Linked DNA regions of Homo sapiens: regions 1, 2, 4, 5 and 6 are each linked to region 3. The links are contacts of gene promoters, found by promoter capture Hi-C in blood cells and fetal thymus (Javierre and others, 2016). All regions are on one chromosome and are shown on one strand. Each heading gives the region's core, a stretch centred on a gene start or on the middle of the fragment in contact. The rest is flanking DNA. Distances are from core to core; before and after follow the strand shown. Region 1 overlaps DIDO1 (death inducer-obliterator 1). Region 2 overlaps GID8 (GID complex subunit 8 homolog). Region 3 holds the start of ADRM1 (ADRM1 26S proteasome ubiquitin receptor). Region 4 has its middle 6.2 kb from the start of BHLHE23. Region 5 overlaps COL9A3 (collagen type IX alpha 3 chain). Region 6 overlaps LOC105372717 (a long non-coding RNA gene).

Region 1 (2,780 bases), core at 121-2,620, 610 kb after region 3:
TGTCCTTAAGGACCTCTACCCAGGACAGCAGATGCTACCAACCCCCAAGAGAAAGGGGCCGGGGCAGCGCAGGAAGGAGTGGAGTCCCAGGCTTGCCCCAGGGAGGCAGGCAGAGGCCCAGCCAGACCAGGGCCAGAGAGGAGTCGCCAAGCATCAGCTTCTTTTCCATTTGGAGCCTATGTCCGAGATGGACCCCACTCAATAAAATCCACCACAAAACAGAGGAACAAGAACAAAAAGTGAAAAGGCTGAACATCGAAATTATATAAGAATGTAATAATTGAAAATTCTTAATAATGTATCTGAATTATTTTAATTAAAAACAAGAAAAATTTTAGAATACTAATGTTTGTGACGTACTAAAATCAACACGATACAGTTCACCACGTGTGTTTAAGAAACAATTCTCTTGTATCCTCTCTCAACCAGTCACATCACAACACTCAAAGGTTCCAGGTGCCGAGTTTCTAGCTAGGTCCTTGCCCCAAAGCCGACACTTCCAAACTGAGCCCCAGCTCTCACCTCTTCCTCAGCCTCAAGACCAACTGCCTTCCCTCTGTGGTCTCCCTGGCAACCTCAGAACAAAGGGACAAACATTCCAACTCCCCTCCTTTTAAAGGGACAGTGACAACTGGGCATAGTGTTTCGCATCTGTGATCCCAGCTGCTTGGGAGGACTGCTTGAGCCCAGGAGTTCAACACCAGCCCAGGCAACGTGTCACCATGTAGACACCCCGTCTCTACAAAAAATAAAAATAAGACAGGCATTCCCTCTGATAAGCCAAACGGCATCGTCATAGTCACCATCTCTTCAATGTGGTAAAACTATCATCCTCAAAACAATTACTTCAAGAATTCAGAAACGACTGCTCAGAAAACACTGGAAATAAACTTTTATATTTTGCAACACTGAGCATTTAATTTATTTTACTTTACTTTTTAAAGAGTTGGCATCTTGCTTTGTTGCCCAGGCTGGAGTGCAGTGGCCCAATCATGGCTCACTACAGTCTCAAACTCCGGGGCTCAAGTGATCCTCCTGGCTTAGCCTCATGAGCAACTGGGACTACAGATGCGTGCCACTATGCCCAGCTAATTTTTGAAAAAAATTCTTTTAGAGACAGGGTTTTGCTATGTTATCCAGGCTGGTCTTGAACTGCTGGCCTCAAGCAATCCTCCTGCCTCAGCCTCCAGAGTTTTGGGGAGTACATGAACGAGCCACCATGCCCAGCCAACACTGAACATTTATAAAAGCAAAGAAATTAAGAAGTTCTCGGGAACGAAAACTGATTTTTAAAAATTCAATTTATGTTAATCTGCGAATAAACACGCTACTAGATTTGAGTTCTGAGTAATCAGAAAAATGTAGTTATTTCTGTTAAGTAGAATTCAATGAAGGATATACCTTCGGAAAAGATCAGATCACTTTATATTTACAAAACTGATTTCATAATGTCTTCAACAGAGAAAATTTACTATAACATTTCAGTCAGCTTGTAAAATAAAAACATATGTATATCAAGGCACAAGCAAAAAAACCTGTTCTAACACAACTTTTTGTGTGTATAATTAGTGTGTAATTCTACACACTACACAGCCCATCACAGGGGGAATGTGTTCATAAAACTGCAACCATATTGTATCAGTAACAACTTTTCCCCAGAAAGAAAAATGTGGGTATCCTTGAAGCTGGGAAGTGAACAAACTACAGGTTAAAACAGAATGTACCAAATTTAATATTTCCACATTTCTAAGCACATTTTTTTCCCCAGCTGAAAACTGCTTCATTTTCTATTGACTAGAAGCAGCTGATGAGCGGCGATTCAAGCAGAGGACACACACTGACTTCCAAATGCTTGAATGGCGGCTCTCAAACCTTTTGTCTCAAGACACTTTTACAAGTTGAGAACACCAAAGAGCTTTTGTTTATGTGGAATGTATTGCTATTTTCAAAATTCTAAGTATGTATTAAAAATAAACCTATTAATACATTAATAGTATCTTTAAATGAAAGTTATTTCTAAAACAAACAAAAATGAACAGGAAGAGTGGCCCTGTTGTACATTTTTGCAAATTTCTGGCATAACCGAAGACAGCTCCATGTTCATGTCTACTTCTGCCCTCAATCTGTTCCCATAGAGTGTTTCAGCTAAAACATGTCATCAAAATCTTGCCTCACACAGATAGGTCTTTAGAATGGAGTATTGTAACCATCTTCACATAACTGGATGTTCACTGATACTACACCAACTCTCGCCAAGGAGCAGTTTCATAAAAGTTAGCTGAAACAGAATTTGCAGCCTTTGTCAAGGAACTTCTCCCTTTCTTTCATGAAAACTGACTGCTGTGTTCACTCTGAACACGTCCTTGCACTCTGGACCCATGTGCATGCTGTTCACCTGGATGACACGGGTTCAAGTAACAGACAGATTCTCAATGTCCACACATCTCATCGGATAGCATAAAACAAACATTTTTTTTCCTGTTGCCCAGGATGGAGTGCAGTGGTGCAATCAAGGATCACTGCAGCCTCAGCACCTCCCCCACCCACACCACCGCCAGGCTCAAAGCGGTCTTCCCACCTCACCCTCCCCAGTAGCTGGGACTACAGGTGCATGCCACCATGCCCAGGTAATTTTTGCATTTTTTTTTGTAGAGACAGGGTCTTACTATGTTGCCCAAGCTGGTCTCAAACTCCTGGGATCAAGTGATCTACCCACCTCCGCCTTCCAAAGTGCTGGGATTACAAGTGTGAGTCACCTCACCTGGCCGATAATGTCGGGT
Region 2 (2,852 bases), core at 110-2,609, 640 kb after region 3:
CGCGCCTAGGAATTCCAGACCAGCCTGGGCAACATAGTGAGACCTTGTCTCTACAAAAAAAAAATGTTAATTAGCTGGATGTGGTGGCTTGTGCCTGTAGTCCCAGCTACTTGGGAGGCTGAGGTGGGAGGATCACTTAAGCCCGGAAGGCGGAGGTTGCAGTGAGCCAAGATTGTGCCACTGCACTCCAGCCTGGGAGAGTGAGTGGGACCCCATCTCAAAAAAAATATTTTTGGAAGGTGAAGAGGAAATTTAGGCCTATAATTATGTCAGGGGCAGGGGAAGGGGCACACATGCTGGCTTTGAAAAATTGTAGACACTCTTAAGAGGTGGGAGTCAACAGGCCACTGCAGGTATAGCTGACCATGGAGGGCCCCTGTGCTGTGGAGGCTGAGCCAGTGTGACTTGCCTAACCTGGCACCAGAGCTGCGGCTGCTGGCGTCTGGACCTATTATCTGTCCTCTCAAAGGAGCCCACACCAACACACTGGGCCAGCAGCCATTCTGACCTCTTTGGCTAATGGGTTAGAGTTTTTGGATGGGATAACAAGGAATGAAGTATACTCTTCTCATTTTCTATATGTATTTTGAGAGCATAACTTGTAAATTATAAAGATATTAATACCGAGTTCCTGAGAAAGTGTGGTTCACATCAGAGGTTATTAATTGAGGCAATTGGAGTTTCTGGAGATACAAAGTCTTTGCCTTAATTCCTTGCTAACTTTCCTAGCAGTGAAGATGGTTTTTCTATTCAGAGGGCTTTAAGGAAGCAGCGGAGAAGTTTCGAATGGAATCTGGAATCGAACCTAGTGTGGATCTGGAAACACTTGATGAACGAATCAAGATCCGGGAGATGATACTGAAAGGTCAGATTCAGGAGGCCATCGCCTTGATCAACAGCCTCCACCCAGAGCTCTTGGACACAAACCGGTATCTTTACTTCCATTTGCAGGTATGTTTCAGGAGAGAGTAGTCTGGTTTGTGAATACTTGATAAGTTAAAGTTATTTGCAATGATTGAGAAATAACTAGGCTAATTTGCTTTAATAATGTTATTTCAATGCATGTGAGGGGGAGAGGTTTGAGTTTGCTCTTTTATGTAGTTCAGAAGCGGTTTTTTGTTTTAAAAATGCAAATTTGATAACTCAGAGATGCAAGAAAAGTCTTCCCTCTGTGATGTACTTTTGATTGGGACCTGGTACCACCTGCCCTAAGTCCCTGGCCTGGGTGTGTGGGGGTCAAGCTTGTCTGTCTCTGCCTCCAGCAACAGCATTTGATCGAGCTGATCCGCCAGCGGGAGACAGAGGCGGCGCTGGAGTTTGCACAGACTCAGCTGGCGGAGCAGGGCGAGGAGAGCCGAGAGTGCCTCACAGAGATGGAGCGTACCCTGGCACTGCTGGCCTTTGACAGTCCCGAGGAGTCGCCCTTCGGAGACCTCCTCCACACCATGCAGAGGCAGAAGGTGGGGCCTGCCAGAGGGAAGCTTTCTTCCATTCCCCATGTGCTCTGAGGGGGCTTCGTGACAACGCCAAGTGTGTGGCTTTGCTGTGTGGACTGAGAGACAGGTGGCTTCTGTGCCTGGGATGCTAAGTGGTTCCTTCATGGCTTTTTTTTTTTTTTTTGGAGGTGAAGTCTTGTTCTGTCGCCCAGGCTGGAGTGCAGTGACGAGATCTCTGCTCACTGCAACCCCCGCCTCCTGTGTTCAAGCGATTCTCCTGCCTCTGCCTCCCAAGTAGCTGGGACTACAGGAGTGTGCCACCACGCCCAGCTAAGTTTTGTATTTTTAGTGGAGATGGGGTTTCACCATATTGGCCAGGCTGGTCTTGAACCCCTGACCTCAGGTGATCCAGTCTCCCAAAGTACTGGGATTACAGGTGTGAGCCATCATGCTCAGCCTCTCTCTGGCTTTTAATCTTTTATCTTGTCAAACTAGGGACAACGGACTTGGTGATCGTTACACAGTATTCACACCCTTTGCTGGTGTCTTATATTTATCTGAACCTTCTTTCTGTTTATGTCCCAAGTATTTCTCATTTAAAATCCTGTCTTCTGAAACTTTTCTCTCCTCGCTGCTATGTTTTTGTCTGGCAGAACATGACAGCTCCTCGCCTTCCCAGACCCAGGTCCCTCTTCCCCCGGGTCCTCTCCCGGGGGCTCTGTCCTCCCTACGCTGTCTTGGAAGGATGGCCTGTCCTAGAGTCCACTTGAGATGTTTTCTTGAGGCTTGTGAGGAGGGTGCTGGTATGTCCTGCTACGCTGGTCTTACCTCTCTCCCAGTCCCCTCAGCACTTTGTTCAAGGCTTGCTCATGGCACTTAACTGCCATCGAGGTTGCATGTGACGTTTAACAACCAGACTGTGAGCTTCCCCAGGCAAGGACTATGTATTTCATGTCCTGAGAGTGTCTCGCAGTTAAGAGCTTAATGTTTGTTTAAACTGCCTCTTTTTAATAGACTCTGCTGGTGCTCTGCGTGTATGGTGGTTTTTATCAGATGTATTTATATTCTAGGTGTGGAGTGAAGTTAACCAAGCTGTGCTAGATTATGAAAATCGCGAGTCAACACCCAAACTGGCAAAATTACTGAAACTACTACTTTGGGCTCAGAACGAGCTGGACCAGAAGAAAGTAAAATATCCCAAAATGACAGACCTCAGCAAGGGTGTGATTGAGGAGCCCAAGTAGCGCCTGCGCTTGCGTGGTGGATCCAACACCAGCCCTGCGTCGTGGGACTTGCCTCAGATCAGCCTGCGACTGCAAGATTCTTACTGCAGTAGAGAACTCTTTTTCTCCCTTGTACTTTTTTTTGACCTGGCATCTTTTTATAGGGAAAAATGGCCTTTGTAGGCAGTGGAAA
Region 3 (3,025 bases), core at 426-2,925:
GCTGCCAGCATCAACACCAACGCATCTCCCAACAAGGGTGAGTGAAAACACACACCTAAAGACCTCAGAGAGCACGTAAGCACACAGCTGTGCATCCACTCTGAGGGTGAGCCACCAAGCACACGGTGACCCCGGGGAGCGCCCGAAGGGAGTGAAGTATCTGAAGGAAAGAAGGAAGTGAGCGATGGGCAAAGGAGAACCTGAGGACCCTGGCACAGTCTCAGCTGCAAACATCTAGTCTTGCTTAACTGGGGTGCAGAGGCCACTGCACCTCAGGGTTCTCACGAAGCGCCTGACCTCTCTATTTTATTACTATTATTATTATTATTTTTTTTTTTTGAGAAGGAGTCTTCCTCTGTCGCCCAGGCTGGAGTGCAGTGGTGCAATCTCGGCTCACTGCAACCTCCACCTCCCGGGTTCAGGCGATTCTCGTGCATCAGCCTCCTGAGTAGATGGAATTACAGGCATGTGCCAGCATACCTGGCTAATTTTTGCATTTTTAGTAGAGTCGGGGTTTCATTCACCATGTTGCCCAGGCTGGTCTTGAACTCCTGGCCTCAAGTAATCCGCCCGCCTCGGCCTCCCAAAGTTCTGGGTTTACAGGCGTGAGCCACCGCGCCTGAGCCCTCTAAGAGCCCCCGCCTGGCGTCGCTGTAGGCAAATCCCAAAGAACGTGTCCCTTCAGCAGCCGGCTGGGGCGCCACAAACACTATCTGTTGTCTTCGCTTTAGTTTGTGTCAAAGTGACTCAAAGTTACACAACACTGGCGGGCGACTGCCGCCTTTTTACCCTGTGGCCTTTCCCATCCAGGCGTCCAGAGGGTGAGCCCCTGCCCTCCAGGACCCCTCCCTTCCAGGACCCTACCCGTCTGGGACTCAGGCCTTCCCTGACTCCTCCCTCCCGGACTCACCCCTCCCAGATCCCTCCCCTCCGGGACCCTCTCCCCTCCCGGGCCCCCTCCCCTCCGGGAACCCCTCCCCTCCCGGACTCACCCCTCCCAGATCCCTCCCCTCCAGGAGCCCCTCCCCTCTCGGGACCCCTCTCCTCCCGGACCCACCCCTTCCTGACCCCTGCCCTCCCGGACCCCTGCGGGACTAGATGTATACAGCTGAGACCATATCACGGTTCTCACCCTCGCTCTACCCTCCCGGACCCCTGCTCTCCCGGACGCGTGGACTCCAGCTCCCGCCTGGGTCCCCAAAGCGCTGAACCCATGGTCACTTCTATGCGTAGCCCTGGTGCCCGCCGCCCACAGCCGGACCGCACTCCTCGGCCTCCGCCTAACCCCTGGCTCAGCCACACGAGTGACAGCTCTGCCCGCCCGGGCGGGCGACGCCGAGGGGTGGGCTCGGCCCCACCTGAGCAGTTCCCCAGCGCCCCTCTGAAACCCGCCTGTGGTCCCTGGCGCCGCCTCTAGGGGCCGCCGCCGCTCCCCTATGACACAGCAACAATAGGGGCCGCTCTGGTCCAAGCGCCCTGCGGCCCGCGCTTCCGCCGGAAAAGAGCCGCCGGCGCGGGGGCGGACCGGGGAGGAGCGAGTGCGATGGACGGTCGCCCTCGCCAATCGTTGGCAGGTTAGAGCCGGCTGCGCGGCTTACGGGGCTCAATCGGCGGCGAGAGCGGCAGGCGGGGCGGGCCGAACGCGGGTTTCCGGCGGGGCCCGGCAGGCGCCGAGGAGGAAGAGCGAGCCCGGACGGCGCCTCTCGAACGAGTGTGGGCGCGAGGCAGGTGCGGGAGTCGCCGGGCCTGGGGCGGCCGGGGGCGACCGGAGGCGGGGGCAGGGGCTGCTGGACCAAGGATGGGGCGGGGGCAGCCAAGACGAGAAGGTGGCCGGCGCGGCGGGTGGGGCCTGCGGGGGCCGGGCCGGGCGGGGGTTCTGGGGTCTCGGGCGCCGCCCCGGTTCCGCCTGCGGCTCTGAACGTGGGGCTCGGCGGGAGCTCGGGCGGGTCTGCCCCGCGGAGCGGGTCGCCGGGGTGGCGCGTCGAGGCTGGTGCCCCGCGGAGACGGCGTCAAGCCTAGGGCCGGCCCCACTAGGCTTGGCGGGGCTGCCCCGGCCCAGCGCCGAGTGCGGGCGGTGCGATCGTCGTGAGCGGGGCAAACGCGGAAAGGCAGCCCGGCGTGTCTGAGTCTGCCTTAGGCAGCTCTGGGCGCAGGCCCCCTGCTCGCAAACACCCCAGGGGGCGGGAGCTTGCCGGACCGCAGGCGACAGTGACCGCCGCGTCTCAGCGTCCTCTCCGCGCTTTCAGGATGACGACCTCAGGCGCGCTCTTTCCAAGCCTGGTGCCAGGCTCTCGGGGCGCCTCCAACAAGTACTTGGTGGAGTTTCGGGCGGGAAAGATGTCCCTGAAGGGGACCACCGTGACTCCGGATAAGCGGAAAGGGCTGGTGTACATTCAGCAGACGGACGACTCGCTTATTCACTTCTGCTGGAAGGACAGGACGTCCGGGAACGTGGAAGACGTGAGTGTCCCTGAGCCGCAGCAGCAGGACAGGCGACTTCTCGGGCCCTCGGAGTCCTCGCTTTGGAGTTCGCGGTGGGGGCTTGGCCGCATCTGGGGACCGCTCGTGGGGCCGTCATCGACTGCCCTGCTGATGGGTCGTCCTGGTTTCCGCGGTGACAGGGGCATCTCGGCCACTGTGTATCTTGAACTGTCCGTGTGAGGTGCCTGGGTTGGAGGTGTGGCCCTGGAGAGCCCGGAGCTCTGTGCCTGGCCTTGAACTGTCCGTGTGAGGTGCCTGGGGTTGGAGGTGTGGCCCTGGAGAGCCTGGAGCTCTGTGCCTGGCGGCTTCACTCAGTCTTCTTTGTTTTTCAAACTCTTAGTTGTTCTTTGTTACATTTGAGAGCAGTTCAGCGTTGACTTTTTAACTACTCTGGGAATGTTGTTTCCAGCACGTCTCAGAAACCCCGTTGCCATCTGAAAGGCCCCTTTCCCTGCTCTCTCCCCCGGCCTTGCCTTTCATGGGCTGTCTCTGACCCTGGCTTCTCTGCCTTGTGGAGACCCTGCCAGCGAGGGGTCTGGCGGCT
Region 4 (3,147 bases), core at 183-2,682, 710 kb after region 3:
CAAGTGGAGGGGACTCTATCAAGTTCTCCTTAGTACCCCAACTACAGTTAAACTTCTGGGAATAAACAGCTGGGTCCACTTATCTCAAATTAAACCTGTCTCTTATAAAGCCCCACAGGCCAACGGAACACAAGAGACTGATCCCGTTTATTCCCGTGAGCCAGTCAGTGACCTCTGATTCCTGTTCCTAAGAAATGAGAGGGATGGGGGGCATAAATACCTGGATTGGCATTCTACTTTTAGGCACAAGTTGGAATCATGCAGAGAGTGATTTATTTACTGAGTAGGCACAGACTTTAGCCTGTCTACATAATCACATAAACGGTTGGGTATGTGGAGAATTGCCACTTTCCTCCACCTCTGGGTTGCCCTGGCATAGTCAACTGGCCAGCCTAAGTCTGTGGGGATTTTACGTTCCAGACCATTACCCAGGCTATGAGAGCTTTAGAGCTCACGTCTCTGCCATTGATGAGCTGTCAGTCAGTCCTCTATTGGCTTGGTTCCAACAGCTGCCCAGTTCTTGGAAAGCCTTTCTGTTTAGCTAGTTTACTTGGAATGATTTTATTTATTTTGCTTTGCTATTGTAGAATATATTGCGGTTGTACTCTTTGTGTAGGAATGCATGACAAGCTCACTCAACACTTTCTTCAGTTGGACATTTTTTTGTTTTTTTTTTGTTTTTTTTTGAGACGGAGTCTTTCTCTGTAGCCCAGGCTGGAGTGCAGTGGCATGATCTTGGCTCACTGCAACCTCCACCTTCTGGGTTCAAGTGATTCTCCTGCCTCAGCCTCTTGAGTAGCTGGGATTACAGGCGCACACCACCATGCCTAGCTAATTTTGTATTTTTAGTAGAGACGGGGTTTCTCCATGTTGGTCAGGCTGGTCTTGAACTCCTGACCTCAGATGATCCACCCGCCTCAGCCTTCCAAAGTGCTGGGATTACAGGTGTGAACCACCATGCCCATCCTGTTTTTCCTTCTTAAATGAGACAAGAGGGATAGAGAATGGGGCTGTGTGTTTCCCTTCCCAACATAAAAGACTGGAGGGAGCTGGAGTTGATACTTCCCTTCCTCCAGGTTGGTTAGACTCTGATTAAACTCTGGTACGTTAAAAATAGTTTCTCTTGAGGGCAGAGGAAGAACAGAATGCTCTGGCATATTTCGAAAGTGCTACTTCTCCCCTCCCCTTGTCCAAAGCACAAGGGGATTTTTCTCTGGTATTTACCTGGGGGATCTGGTAGAGTTTGTGCAGGTAAAACTCACAGAAGTGTGGCCTCCACCCTAAGACTGGGCCCTGGAGTTTTTAACTGTCAAGCTTGGCCACACAGCCTCCAGCAATCTGCCAGTGACAGTTTAGGTTTTCCCAACCTGGCAGTGGTTCCCAGGGAGGTGTCTGCTCTGCAGAATTGGGATTCTCTGCATCTGTCTGTCGTCTCTACAACTTTTTTGGGCAGTGGTTTGCCCTGTGACCTCATCATCTGTTGAATATAAGAAATATTATTGACTTTCAGTTTGCTCACGTTTTGTTCTTGTGAAAAGATTGATTGTTTCCAAGCTTCTCACACAGTGGACTAGAAATTGATTCATTTCATTTATCCTTTTTGGGTTTGTGGGGTTCTTGAATTTGTGACTTGATGATTTTGATTACTTTTAGAAATTTCCTGGCTATTAACTCTGGAGTATTGCTTCAACCTCATGTTCTCTCATCTCCTCTCTGGGATCCAGTTACAAATATATTGGTCCTTCTTCCTGAATCCTTTGTGTATCTTAACCTGTCACCTGTATTTTCCATTTGTATTATCCATACTTCATTCTGAATATTTTCTACTGACCTATTTTCCACTTCACTAATTCTCTCTTCAGCTGAATTTGCTATTAAAGCCACTAAGTTTATAATTTAAGTGATTTTATTTTTCAGTGCTAGAATTTTCATTTGGTTTTTCTAGGTTTTTTTTTTTTTTTTTGCTGAAATTCTAAATTCCACCTCTATTTCTGCAAATGCTGTAAGCACAGTTTTGTTCCAGTCTCTGTCTCGCGACTCCAGTGTCTGGACTGGTAGATCTTCTGCCTATGGTCTCTGCTGCTTTCATTCTTGCTGATTTGTTTTTTCAATTGTCTAGAATTTTTATTGTGGACTGAACATTGTATTTGTAAAATTATTTTGTAGAAATCATTTGAGGTCTATTTTATTTTCCTCCAGAGAGGGTTTATGTTTGCATCTGCGAGACATGGGGGCACTAGGGGTCCTGGATCATCTTACTCTAGTTTCAGGGATTGAAATCATTTCAAGATGATTACAGTTTAGGTTTTCCTACCCTGGCAGTGGTGCAAAAGGCCCTGAGTTGCTGCAAGAGCCGGTCTCCTTCTATCCACCCCTATGTCTAGGGTGCGGTTATTTGTTGTCCCAACTCAAAATGGTGGGGGTCGGGGGGATGTTCGCCAACTCCCCACTCTCAGGTGGGCTGAATCTCTCGCTGTCTGGCTCCTCAGTGGGCTGTGAGCTATCTGAAGCAGCAAATGCTTTGGGGGAAAAGTGAGCGTCCCGAAGGCTTTTTTCACTCTGGATCTTTGTCTTTCTGGGATTTTGTTTGTTTGCATTCCAAGCAAATATTTTTAACATTTTGCTCAGCTTTTGTAGTCACCATCAGAAAAGTGATGGGTCCAGATTAACTAGTCCCTAATAACCAGAAACTGGAAGTCTGATGGTTGTTTTCAGTCTTGAACAACATTGATTCTGCGGTGACCAGTTTAGAGTTCATGCAATAGACCTTCCTCCCCCTTGTAAAATCATCACTATTTCAGCTAATACTTAGAGTGACCTCCTGGTGACTCATCCTCAGCCCCCTTTGCCGGTTCTTCTTTTCCCCGACATTTTCATTCTGGAGGGCTTGGGATTCAGTCCTTTGGCCTTTTTCCTAGCTGTGTCTGCCCCCTCGGGGATCTCATCCAATACCCTTCCCACAGCCTACCCAGACCCCAGTGCTGAACTCCAGACTCACGGATTCAGCGGAGCGCAGAATGTCAGATGTGTGAGGGCCGCCTCCGATGCAGCGCGTTCCAGATGGAGCTGCGGCCTCCCCCAGACCCGCCCACCCCCACCCCCAGATTCTGTTGAGGGCAAATCATGCTTCCTCGCAGCTCACACCCT
Region 5 (2,791 bases), core at 108-2,607, 530 kb after region 3:
GCCCCAGGGACCCCAGTCTCTGGCAGACCCCCACAGCCCAGTGTAAACTTTTTATGCCTGGGGACAAAAGACCTCAGTTGTATGTGTTTCATTTAGTGAATTCTTTTTTTATTTTTTTTTGAGACGGAGTCTTGCTCTGTCCCCAGGCTGGAGTGCGGTGGTGTGATCTCAGCTCACTGCAATCTCTGCCTCCTGCGTTCAAGCGATTCTCCTGCCTCAGCCTCCCGAGTAGCTGGGACTACAGGTGCCCACCATCACACCCGGCTAATTTTTGTATTTAGTAGAGATGGGGTTTCACCATGTTGGCCGGGCTGGTCTCAAACTCCTGACCTTGTGATCCGCTCGCCTTGGCCTCCCAAAGTGCTGGGATTACAGGCGTGAGCCACCTCGCCCAGCCCATTTAGTGAATTCTTAGACAACACTGACAAATGGACCCTGGAAATCCCAGAAGCTGCCCTACGTGGCCACTGTTGCTGGTGGGGTGAGGGGCAGAGCCCCTTGCAGGCGGAAAACCTAAGGCTTTGCTCTCAGCTACTCGCACGGTCGGGCTGTGTGAGGTGACCCCCTACCCTCCTGGCCTCCGCGGAGCATGCTGTCTGGGCCCGGTCGGTCCCTCTGCTGTGCGGTTAGACTGTGTCAGTCTGTATTCTGCAGCTGTAACAGAACACCGCAGCTTGGGTAGTTTACAAGGGAAAGAGATCCATGTGGCTCCTAGTTCTGGAGGCTGGGAAGCCCAAGACCGAGGGGTGCATCCATCGAGGGCCTCCCCACTGCGTCATTCCATGGTGGAAGGCAGAAGGGCCAAGAGGAGGTGCCAGAGAGAGAAAGGGGCCCAACCCATCCTTTTCATGAGGAACCCACTGCGGAGACAACGGTGTTAGTTTACTCCGGAGAGCCGAGCTCTCAAACCTAATCACCTCTTAATAGCATTGCAGTGCAGTGGCCGTTCAATTGCAGCATGTGTTTTGGAGGAGACATTAACCCGGCTGACTGTGTGTTGACGCACCTGGGGCCAGTCATTCCTGAGGACCCAGCTGGAGGGGGTTCCAGGGTTTTAGGGCAGAGAGGTTCAGCCCAGCATTAGGCGTGTTAGTAAGAAAAAGGAATGGAAGCAAAGTAAGCGTGTGTAAGAGACAGCACCGTGCAGCTAACAAAGTCACTCTTCCCAGGAAAGTAAGTTTTTAAAAAGCTTCAATCAATCAGTGCAATCACAGAAATATAAAAAATGTATATAGAAGAACGGAAGGAACCACTGTCAATATTTGGATGTAGTCTAATAGCAGGTGTGTGGATGATTTGATTTATTTTATCCTCAACTGGCTACTTCCCACCCACCCAACAATACACTTAGTTCAAACACACAACTTTTCTCTTCACAGGGTCCCAGCGGCCTGGTCGGACCCAAAGGAGAGGTGAGTGCCCGGCGACTGTTCCGATGACACCATCCATGGGCGCCTGCTGGCTTCCTGCCCACCTCTGGGCAACCAGGCAGCCCTGCAGGGCACTGCCCAGATCCGAGATGTAAAAAAGCTTGCTCTGGTCAAGGCTGGGCAAGACGGCTCCGTGCCGGCTGGGAAAGAGCACGTCGGGGTGGCTCTGGGCTCCTGGGCTCGCCCCTGACCCACCTTCCTCTGTTCCTCTGCAGTCTGGCAGTCGAGGGGAGCTGGGCCCCAAAGGCACCCAGGGTCCCAACGGCACCAGCGGTGTTCAGGGTGTCCCCGGGCCCCCCGGTCCTCTGGGCCTGCAGGGCGTCCCGGGTGTTCCTGGCATCACGGGGAAGCCGGGAGTTCCGGTACGTCGCTTTTCCGGCTTTTCCAGCTTTCACAGGGTTGAGATCGTGTTTTTTCCGGAAGGAAGTTACTTTGCGGGGTGACGGTGGGAATGCCTCACCGAGGCTGCCGCCCCCATGCTGACGAATGTGTGGGGTGAATTCCAGGGGAAGGAGGCCAGCGAGCAGCGCATCAGGGAGCTGTGTGGGGGGATGATCAGCGGTAAGTCAGCCACGTGCACCGGCTGCAGCGGGGCCCATCCCCGCCTGGGGGTCCCGTGCCTGGGGCTACACAGAAAGCCTTCGTGCCACTGCTTTCCAGCCAAAGTGAGCCCCTAGCACTCACCCCGCCTGTTAGCCCTTGGGGGTCCACGTCCGCCTTGGCGTCTGCCTGTCCTCTGCGCTAGAGGATGGCCCACGCTCCCGCCCCGGATTCAACCAGATTCCCAGCACGCAGCAGACGCCCTAAAGCCTGCTGAATGCAATGGGTACAAGAACAGCGGAGTGTGCCCCTGTGGCTGGCAGGGCAGGTCCCTAAACACCCCCAAGGGCACTTCCTTCACCTTCCCACTCAGGCTTCTCAGGCTCCAAGGGGTTGGGGGTCCTTTCTAGCTCCAGCATTCATCACCCCAAAGCAGTTAAACCATTTTCCATCAATCAGAAGGAAAACTTGCTTCTGGAAGACAGCACCGTGTAGATATTTTATGCTTTACGTAACAATACTTCTGATGATCCTCTCTCGAGTAAACGCCTGCACCCTTGTTTTCCCAAAGAACAAATTGCACAGTTAGCCGCGCACCTAAGGAAGCCTTTGGCACCCGGGTCCATTGGTCGGCCCGGTCCAGCTGGCCCCCCTGGGCCCCCAGGACCCCCAGGCTCCATTGGTCACCCTGGCGCTCGAGGACCCCCTGGATACCGCGGTCCCACTGGGGAGCTGGGAGACCCCGGGCCCAGAGGTGAGTGTTTGACCCCATGACACGGTCACCCTGCTGTAAAAATCCCTGAGACTGACTTGTTAGTAGG
Region 6 (3,219 bases), core at 675-3,174, 570 kb after region 3:
GAGGCAGAGGTTGCAGTGAGCCGAGATCGTGCCACTGCACTTCAGTCTCAGTGACAAAGTGAGACACTGTCTCAAAAAAAAAAAAAAAAAAAAAACAAAACTTAGAAATAAATTTGATGAAAGATGTAAAAGACTGTACACTGAAAACTACAAAATACTGTTGAAATAAATTAAAAAGATGGACAAATATAGAGATATACTATGTTCATGGATTGGAAGGTTCGATAGTGTTAAGATGTCTGTTATTCCCAAAACTGATGTATGCAGTTCCAATAAAAACCCAGCAGTGTCTTAGTCCATTTGTGCTGTCATAACAAGACACCTTAGACTGGGTCACTTATAAACAACAAAAATGTATTGCTCCTAGTTCTGGAAGCTGGAAAGTCCCAGATCAAGGCACCAGCATATGTGATGGCTGATGAGGGCCTGTTCCGCTCAGATGCTGCCTTCCTGCCACATCCTCATGTGGCAGAGAGAGAAAATCAGCTCCCCCAGGCCTCTTGTAAAAGGGCACTAATCCCATTCATGATGGCTCTCCCGTCATGACCTAGTCACCTCCTAAAGGCCCCTCTTCTTATTTTTTATTTATTTATTTTTTTGAGATGGAGTCTCGATTTATTGCCCAGGCTGGGGTGCAATGGCATGATCTCGGTTCACTGCAACGTCTGCCTCCCGGGTTCAAGCAATTCTTCTGCCTCAGCCTCCTGAGTAGCTGGGATTACAGGCACGTGCCACCACGCCTGGCTAATAGTTTTGTATTTTCAGTAGAGACAGGGTTTCACCATGTTGGTCAGGCTGGTCTTGAACTCCTGACCTCAGGTGACCCGCCCGCCTCGGCCTCCCAAAGTGCTGGGATTACAGGCGTGAGCCACCGCACCCGGCCATTGTTTTAAAGACCCCTCTTCTTAATGCCACCACAGTGCAGATTAGGTTTCAGTATGAATCTTGGAGGGATACAAACTCAGACCGCAGCAAGCAGGGTTTTTTTTCTTTCTTTCTCTCTCAAATTCTTGGAAGGTTGAGCAGGGCAGGGTCACCAGGCCTGCCGGCAACTGCTCCCCTTCCTCTCATCCTCCTGTAGCTTCTTGGACTCCTGGGCCAATTGATTTTTCTGTTCCGTGATGTGGAGTGATCAAAGCTGGTTCTGGGTTTTCTGGAGCTGGATCTTTGATTGCCTTTGATTTAAAAGCATTGGTAACCGTTTCTCACGGGAAAGAGGCGCTGATAATTCATGCAAATGAGCATCAATGGGCAAAATTCAACCAAGTGCCTCTGGAACCAAGGCTGCCATTGAACATTCTAGTAAAAATGGGGTGGAGGCTTTTGCCCAAGTGCTCTGGATAATCTGGGAAAAGAAAATGGTGAGTCAGTGCTTTATTTTATTTATTTATTTATTTATTTATTTGTTTGTTTTTGAGGCGGAGTCTTGCTCTGTCACCCAGGCTGGAGTGCAGTGGTGCGATCTCGGCTCACTGCCACCTCTGCCTCCTGGGTTCAAACGATTCTCCTACCTCAGCCACCCAAGCAGCTGGGATTACAGGCACATGCCACGATGCCTGGCTATTTTTTGTATTTTTCTGGTAGAGACAGGGTTTCACCATGTTGGCCAGGCTGGTCTCGAGCTCCTGACCTCAAGTGATCTGCCTGCCTCGGCCTCCCAAAGTGCTGGGATTACAGGTGTGAATCACCGTGCCCAGCCGAATTTTTTTTTTCTTTTTTTTTCTTTTTAGATGGAGTCTCTGTCACCCAGGCTGGAGTACGGTGGCACGATGTTGGTTCACTGCAACGTCCGCCTCCTGGGTTCAAGCGATTCTTCTGCCTCAGCCTCCCGAGTAGCTGGGATTACAGGCACGTGCCACCATGCCCAGCTAATTTTTTTAGTAGAGACGGGGTTTGGGGTTTCACCATGTGAGCCAGGATGGTCTCGATCTCCTGACCTCATGATCCCCCCGCCTCGGCCTCCCAAAATGCTGGGATTACAGGCATGAGCCACCGTGCACGGCCTTTTTTTTTTTTTTTTTTTAAATAGAGGCAAGGTTCACCATGTTGCCCAGCCTTGTCTCCAACAAGCTCAAGGGATTCACCTCCTCACAGACAGTGCTCCCACAGGCGTGAGCCACCACGCCCCACCTTATTTATTTTTATGTATCTTAACTTCCAAGGTGGATTTATTTAAAGGTTTTACAATAACTATGTCCAGGCTTTAGGCTCATGGGAAGTAAATGAGGACACCTTTTTCCCAAGAAGAATTTCTTTAAAACCAAGCACATTGCTAAATAACAACATTATATTTGGCAAACAATAATTGGCAACAAAATAAGTTTATTATTCTGCCCAAGCCAGTCCCAGATGCTGTTTCTTAACCAAGATACAAACAAATTTTGCTGTAGCAAGTCTAGACCAATTTTATCAAACATGTCTTTGGTTAGATGTCTAGTTTCATTTAACGTTTTGAAAACTCATTTGACAGCCAGTCAAGTCCCTCATCTACACCAGCTCCGTGTTGCACAAGTGGCTTGAACATACCATGTCCTGTTAGGAAGAGACTGAAGAGCTGGCTGGCTCATCTGTCGTCACACTGATGGCCCGAGCGCTGGGCAAACCCTGTTTGTTTGCAGAGAGCAGTGGCGCTGCGTCTCCACACTCACCGGCCAGAAGCCTTTTCTGCAGCGCGTCCGCCACTTCCCGAATTCTTTCATGATCGTTGCTATCTACCAGCAAAAGAAAACCCTGGGTATTCTGGAAGTAATGCTTCCAGAGAAGCCTAATTACATCTTGACCATGAACATCCCACACCATGAAACAAGTGTTCTCTTTTTGAGTCAGAGTCTCGCTCTGTCATCCAGGCTGGAGTGCAATGGCGCAATCTCAGCTCACTACAACTTCCACCTCCCGGGTTCAAGCAATTCTCCTGCCTCGGCCTCCCGAGTAGCTGGGATTACAGGAGCCCACCACTATGCCTGGCTAATTTTTGTATATTTAGTAGAGACAGGGTTCCACCATATTGGCCAGGCTGGTCTTGAACTCCTGACCTTGTGATCTGCCTGCCTCGGCCTCCCAAAGTGCTGGGATTATAGGCATGAGCTACCGTGCCTGGCCCAAAACAAGTGTTCTTATATTCTACTCTTTCCATGTTAAAACCAATGGCAGGAACTGTGGTGAGTACCTCCCCTAACTTCAGTTTATACACAATGTATAGGCAGCATCCAATCGAACCGT

The links. Contacts are between HindIII fragments. The CHiCAGO score rates a contact against its expected background, and 5 or more counts as called.
Region 1: a contact is called between a fragment that was not itself captured here and the fragment with the promoter of ADRM1 in region 3, in 1 of 17 cell types (neutrophils). The highest score is 6.8, in neutrophils.
Region 2: a contact is called between a fragment that was not itself captured here and the fragment with the promoter of ADRM1 in region 3, in 1 of 17 cell types (neutrophils). The highest score is 7.9, in neutrophils.
Region 4: a contact is called between a fragment that was not itself captured here and the fragment with the promoter of ADRM1 in region 3, in 1 of 17 cell types (naive B cells). The highest score is 5.9, in naive B cells.
Region 5: a fragment that was not itself captured here is called in contact with the fragment with the promoter of ADRM1 in region 3 in 1 of 17 cell types (total B cells); the score reaches 6.0 in total B cells.
Region 6: a contact is called between a fragment that was not itself captured here and the fragment with the promoter of ADRM1 in region 3, in 1 of 17 cell types (monocytes). The highest score is 5.5, in monocytes.

The regions. Positions count from the first base shown.
Region 1 is chr20:62,914,564-62,917,343 of GRCh38, forward strand. All of the region lies in intron 1 of DIDO1 (death inducer-obliterator 1), which reads right to left. Among named protein-coding and RNA genes, the nearest start is that of DIDO1, 11 kb to the right of the region's middle. The HindIII fragment of the contact is 3,417 bases long and covers 1-2,780 here.
Region 2 is chr20:62,942,233-62,945,084 of GRCh38, forward strand. GID8 (GID complex subunit 8 homolog) reads left to right here. Exons shown (of 5, transcript NM_017896.3): 3 at 755-951; 4 at 1,263-1,460; 5 at 2,507-2,852. The coding sequence ends at 2,680. Among named protein-coding and RNA genes, the nearest start is that of GID8, 5.5 kb to the left of the region's middle. The HindIII fragment of the contact is 240 bases long and covers 1,240-1,479 here.
Region 3 is chr20:62,301,322-62,304,346 of GRCh38, forward strand. It overlaps ADRM1 (ADRM1 26S proteasome ubiquitin receptor), which reads left to right and starts at 1,676. Exons shown (of 10, transcript NM_007002.4): 1 at 1,676-1,728; 2 at 2,247-2,460. The coding sequence starts at 2,248. RefSeq lists silencers at 1,186-1,305, 1,326-1,785. The HindIII fragment of the contact is 19,122 bases long and covers 1-3,025 here.
Region 4 is chr20:63,011,613-63,014,759 of GRCh38, forward strand. No RefSeq gene overlaps it. Among named protein-coding and RNA genes, the nearest start is that of BHLHE23, 6.2 kb to the left of the region's middle. RefSeq lists an enhancer at 1,326-1,475. The HindIII fragment of the contact is 240 bases long and covers 1,313-1,552 here.
Region 5 is chr20:62,834,542-62,837,332 of GRCh38, forward strand. It overlaps COL9A3 (collagen type IX alpha 3 chain), which reads left to right. Exons shown (of 32, transcript NM_001853.4): 27 at 1,380-1,412; 28 at 1,646-1,792; 29 at 1,937-1,991; 30 at 2,542-2,724. Among named protein-coding and RNA genes, the nearest start is that of COL9A3, 19 kb to the left of the region's middle. RefSeq lists an enhancer at 1,248-2,447. The HindIII fragment of the contact is 341 bases long and covers 1,188-1,528 here.
Region 6 is chr20:62,869,807-62,873,025 of GRCh38, forward strand. The region is part of intron 1 of LOC105372717 (a long non-coding RNA gene); the gene reads left to right. It also overlaps the pseudogene ARF4P2. Among named protein-coding and RNA genes, the nearest start is that of TCFL5, 9.6 kb to the left of the region's middle. The HindIII fragment of the contact is 6,367 bases long and covers 1-3,219 here.